Linked DNA regions of Homo sapiens: region 1 is linked to region 2. The links are contacts of gene promoters, found by promoter capture Hi-C in blood cells and fetal thymus (Javierre and others, 2016). All regions are on one chromosome and are shown on one strand. Each heading gives the region's core, a stretch centred on a gene start or on the middle of the fragment in contact. The rest is flanking DNA. Distances are from core to core; before and after follow the strand shown. Region 1 has its middle 43 kb from the start of PLEKHG7. Region 2 holds the start of LUM (lumican).

Evidence for each region. The method cuts DNA at HindIII sites, captures the fragments that hold promoters and counts their contacts. A CHiCAGO score of 5 or more calls a contact.
Region 1: a contact is called between a fragment that was not itself captured here and the fragment with the promoter of LUM in region 2, in 2 of 17 cell types (fetal thymus and total CD4 T cells). The highest score is 6.0, in fetal thymus.

Annotation. Positions count from the first base shown.
Region 1 is chr12:92,658,128-92,661,113 of GRCh38, forward strand. No RefSeq gene overlaps it. Among named protein-coding and RNA genes, the nearest start is that of PLEKHG7, 43 kb to the right of the region's middle. The HindIII fragment of the contact is 973 bases long and covers 936-1,908 here.
Region 2 is chr12:91,109,957-91,112,773 of GRCh38, forward strand. LUM (lumican) reads right to left here and starts at 1,538. Exons shown (of 3, transcript NM_002345.4): 1 at 1,442-1,538. The HindIII fragment of the contact is 5,015 bases long and covers 301-2,817 here.

The DNA.
Region 1 (2,986 bases), core at 172-2,671, 1.5 Mb after region 2:
AAAAAAGAGTATTTCTCTGGTTCCATGAATAAACCATTGCTTAAATCATTCTCAAACTATAATGTGTATAAAATTCACCTGGAATCTTGTCAAAATGCAGATTCTGATGCAATAGTTCTGGGTAGGGCCTAAGATTTTGCGTTTCTGACAAACTCCCAGGTGACACCAATGCTGCTATTCTATGAACTACAGTTTCAACAAGGTCTTACCCGACGGCTTCCAAATTTCCTTCTCCTTTTCCTTCTCCATGGAGAGCCCTCTTCAGAGGGACTCTTAAGAATTATCTCATCCTATTCCATTTATTACTCTACAGGGAGAGGCAACCTAACCTGGCTTTAACCATAACTACTTGCACAATGAGGAGGAGCAGATTTCCCATCTCTGATTCGCAGATGGGAAACACTGTGGCAGGTAAGGGATTTCATCAGGGCTGCATGGCAAGTAGCTGAATTCCGTAACATATGAAGAATTGCTTCCATTTCTACATTTCTTGTTAAAAGACTCAGAGGATGTTGAGCACTTAGAAACAAGCTGAAGAGCATGTCTGGCCTGAGCCCGATGAAAGTCAGAGTCAATAGCGTAAGCAAAGGACCAGGCACATTCCCTGTTCCTTTCCCTGGTCTCTGCTTCTCATTTCTTAATCTTTGCTCATACTCAACCAGGCTACCAGCAATCTGGAGACACATATGGATGGAAAAGATGCCAAGGGAAGCCCTCCCCTCCTTCCATGATTACTGTCCTTCATTGCAAAAGAAACTCTTTTTAAATATGCCTGGAAAGCAGTACCTGTTGTTTTTTATGTGGGTAAAGGCCAGTGGTATGCTACAAATGTTTAACAACTGACCATCAAAAAAAAAAACAAAACAAAAAGAGGCCCTCTTTTGTAGCATTTGCCAGTTTCCATGGTGTAAATACTCTCACTCTGGCCAATATCAAGCTTCCAACATGACTTTACTGAACATGGAATTAGAAAGATATGAGGCCAGTGACTCTCACAAGCTAGTATGAGCCGGCCGCAGTTCATCATGATAAAGCCTATAATTTTATCATCAGGCAAAATTAAAACTGTAGATTCAGAAAAGATTTACACCTGTTTGATCAACCTTCTCATCATCACGTCCCTTTACTACCAAAGTAAGTTGACCTGCCATTGCTCTTTAACAGTTGGTAGTTTTTCTTTAATGCAAGGTATTTAGCAGAAACCACCACATAAATTAAGCCCTTGTCCTATAGATAGCTTTTACAAAGAGCTTTCCTTGATCCCTATTGAATTATTGCCCTGGACCAGAGAAATACAATGCCCTTCCCAACAGTTTAATGTATTTAGTAACCCTCTGGAAAGAGAAAAATAACAAAACAAAACATTACAATTTTACATGTTGAAATTAAAATGAATCAAAACTTTTTTTTTTTTTTTGAAACAGGGTCTCACTCTGTTGCCCAGACTGGAGTGTAATGGCCCATTCATGCCTCACTGCAGTTTCAACCTCCTGGGCTCAAGCAATCCTCCCGCCTCAGCCTCTTGAGTAGCTGGGACTACAGGCACATGCCACCATGCTCAGCTAATTTTTTGTCTTTTTAGTAGAGACAAGGTTTCACCATATTGCCCAGCCTGGTCTTGAACTCCTGGGTTCATGTGATCTTCCCACCTTGGCCTCTCAAAGTGCTGGGATTACAGGCATAAGCCATCACACCTGGCCCTCGAACTTTTTATTATGTTCTAGTTATACATTGTATGAAACTTTTTCAGGCATTGAAATAAATGCCTTTATACCACTTAAAGGAAATGAGAAAATTTTTTGTACAAGAACAAAAAGATCATATGGCTGTGTTGAATGACAATATTTCTTAAAAATTTATTAGTGATCAATTTCTATTCATTTAAGAATAGTTTGAAGTTAAAATGTAAGCTTTAGGAGATATGTATTCTTTGACAGATTTTAAGGGTTATGGAAATCAAAACAAGTTTGGTAAGTGGCTATAGTAGATTGCCAAAATTTTCACAAATTATTCCCTTCCTTAACAGCTACGTCCTTTGCAATATAGCTTTGCAATTTCTCCCATCAACAGGTGGAGTTGGTCTTGTGCCTTCTTTGGCCAATGGAATGTGACAAAGCAGCATTGCAGTTCAAGCCTAGGCTTTAAGAGACCTTTTGGGATTTCCTAATTGCTACAAAAAAAACCTGACACCAGGTGAGTAAACCCAGGGTAGCCTACTGGGGGATGAGAGACCACCTGGGACAAAGATGAACCATCCCAGGTAAGCTTTGTACCCCAACCACCACGACACACCAGCCAGGCTCCAGCTGACCTAGCACCTTCTCACACCTGAGCCCAGCTCAAATCGCCAAACCACAAATTCTTCCAAAATGGGATGTTGATTTACACCAGGGGTATCCTATCTTTTGGCTTCCCTGGACCACAAGGGAAGAATTGCCTTTGGCCACACATAAAATACACTAAGGATAGCTGATGAGCTTTAAAAAAATTGCAAAAAAAATCTCATAATGTTTTAAGAAAGTTTGCAAATTTGTGTTGGGCCACATCCAAAGCCATGCTGGGCTGCATGTGGTCCCGTAGGCCATGGGTTGGACAAGCTTGATTTATGCCATTGAGCTTTGTAGTGCTTTAATAGCTAAAACTAATTGATATAGTCACCTATATCAGGAAATACTCAAAATACACCCCAACCATATGCTGTATGTAGACCTTTTTGGAGGCTGATTGAAACCAAACCAACTTCTTAAGATAACTGAGGAAATTTAAAATGGTATGAGTATTAGACAATATTGAGGAATTATTGCCCCTTTTGTGAGATGTGGTAATGATATTGTACTTATGTTTTTAAAAAGTCCTCATCTGTTAGGGACATACAAAATTTATACATGCATATATGAAATAAATATGTACCTACACACATACATAAACACATACACGCTGAAATATTTAGGGGTGAAATAACTTTATGCTTGGAATTTGCTTTAAA
Region 2 (2,817 bases), core at 288-2,787:
TGTTAGAACTATCTAGTAAATTATTCAATTGAGAATATGAATTTGAAATAATGTGTAACAGTTATCTTCTCATAGGAACATGTTTCTAAGGTGAGGCTCAAAAAAGTACATTTCAATGTCTTAGGTGCAGCAATTTAGATATGGGAAAATTGGAATATAAGAGTTAGACTTTTATAGAGTGAACAGTTGTGGCTGAGGCAAAGTTGGTAGCCCTGGGAGATAAATCATTAATGTGACGAAAGATCTACATTCTAATAGATAACTGAGAATATTATATCTTTCTATGAAAGTATGATTACAAGCTTTTGGATCAAAGTAGTTTGGGATAAGCAGGATCTTTGGGGTTAGAAACTGAAAACGTCTTTTATTTGTTTTAATTTGAAATTGTAAGGCACTTTATTTCAGATCAGATGGAACGTTATAAAACAGCTTTTAGAAATACTTTGATTGCTGACATAAGGTAACATGTAGCCAGATTCTCAGTAAATTACTCTCTAAGATTTTAATGGGGGCATTTAATTTTGCTGACAGAACTTGGCCATAATAATAATTGCATAGCACTAAAAAGAACGTGATGACATATTCCCAGAGTTATTTTAAGTTATAGAATGTAAATACTGTAAAGATTTGTCTTGCTTTATTAATAAGCTATTTTAAATTTACTATACACCAAAATATGGCAACTATAATGTGAGTATTAAATAGTAATGAAAAATGCTTCCATATTTTTTGGCAAAGTAAAAACAAGGATGCTGAATTGAATGAGAGTTTGCAACCATATAATGACTCCACTATGAGGCAAAATCACACTGTACTACCCTCAGTTTTTTCAAATACCTGTGGCTATAGAGAAAATGCTGTTTTCAAAAACGAAATCATTTCCCAGAACTTTTTAAAAAACTCGTTCCTTAAGGCATATATCCAAGAAACAAATTTTTTAAATTAACAAAACAGAAATAAATAATCCATAAGAGTTCCTAAATCTTTTAGCTCATGTTTTATAACATAGAACGTTTATTGTAAATTATAACAAATTGTCACAATATGCTTATTAAAAGATATTTTGAATGCTGATTAAAATGACTTTTCTTTGCTCCAGTATTAGGGTCCAATACTAACATATATAACTAACTAGCATACATAACAAACATATTAATTTCTATATTTTTTCACTGTGTCTACTTTAACTATTTTCTCATTCTAACCTTGAAACTTTTTATAACTTCTCTTGCCAAGCAATACAGCATATACTGTATAAAATCTCAAATCTATAAATCATGGAAAACATATTAACAAAATGTGAAACTAAATGCTCAGAACTGTGGATTTGCTGTTGAATAGCAATTGGCAAAATTGCTCTGGAATTTTTCCTGTTCCTGTTACAAAAAACGCTGTCCCAAACAGTTAACATCCCCAGTGCAATAGTTAAAACAGCACTTACCTTACTGTCTTGACACTGCTTTCGTTAATTCTTAAAGCAGATGCACTATGGACAAGAATCCACCAATATATGCTGTGAACTCTGTCAGGACGGAACTGGCTGCCAGATTCTGAGTGATACAAGAGCTGAAGGGGGGTGGGGAGACCCAGCCCAGTCACGCCAGTCTCTGAATGGAGTTATGTCATTGTGGGGATCTTGTGGTGTGGCATGTGAACACTGCTCTCTAACGAAGTGCAGGTGAACGTGGGGAGAAAGGACAGCCCAGCTCATTCCCTATGGAATGGGAGAGAGATATGTGTTTAACTAGCTCAAATACCATAGCTTTTAACCAAGAATTGAGTCCTGCTTCAAATAAGGAAGCTCACTGTGAGAACATTTTTCTTACAAGCCTCTTTACATCTGTGGCTGTGGCAACAATTAAGTGCAATGTGCTCAGCCAACTATCATGTTTATCTAAAGATCTCAGAAATCATAAGCAGGGCAAATAATTTCAGGAAAACGCAAATGAACAGACTCAGAGGAATTGAATCCCTTTGCCTATCACTTTTGAAATCAATATTGATTTACTTGGACTAACTTAATTTTTTGGCCATGAGGGTAGCTTACATTAGTTTTAAAAATATAAAATATGCTTCATATACACTTGGATACACATGATAAATATCAACATTTCAAGTTTACTTCTAATGCTAAGGAGACTCATTTTATGTTATTCAGGTCTGGAACCAATCAGCAAAGTCTTGCCTGTTTTTTATTTTGTGGATTTCGTTTAGGAATTCACCCAAAACCTTACTTGGGGAGAGCATTCTATAGCTTAATGCCAAAAAACATAAAAGAACAGAGAAAAAAATAAATTTATACTAAAAGTATCACAAGGCAAGAATCTTTCATTGCATGCTAGTAATTTTTTTTCAAAGTTAAAAGTTATTCAAAGTTATAATCTCCCAAAGGCCTGGCTGGATATATCTTTCATTATCAGCTCCTGATGCATGGTTTCAGCAAATGAGAGATGTACTTAAATCCTTGTCTATTTCATTTTGTGATTTTATCAGATATATTTATGAGATTTTTTTCTAAAATGTTCATTTCCTCATGTTTATAAGAACTTTTACACCAATATATTTTAATATAAGTTGTCACATTGTATTTTTGTCTTTAAAAATAACTATATCACATTTTAGCAGTGAGACTTGTGGAAAATTAACTCCATGACTAATACTGCATTTGTCCGAAAAAAAGACTATTAGAATAAATGGCTTATTTTTGTAATAGCAGTGTTCAAAAACAAAAAGTAATCTTCTTGAAAGTAACTAATGGAATTGTAAGATGATTCATAAACATAACATTTTTCCTAATATTATTTTAAGAAAATTATT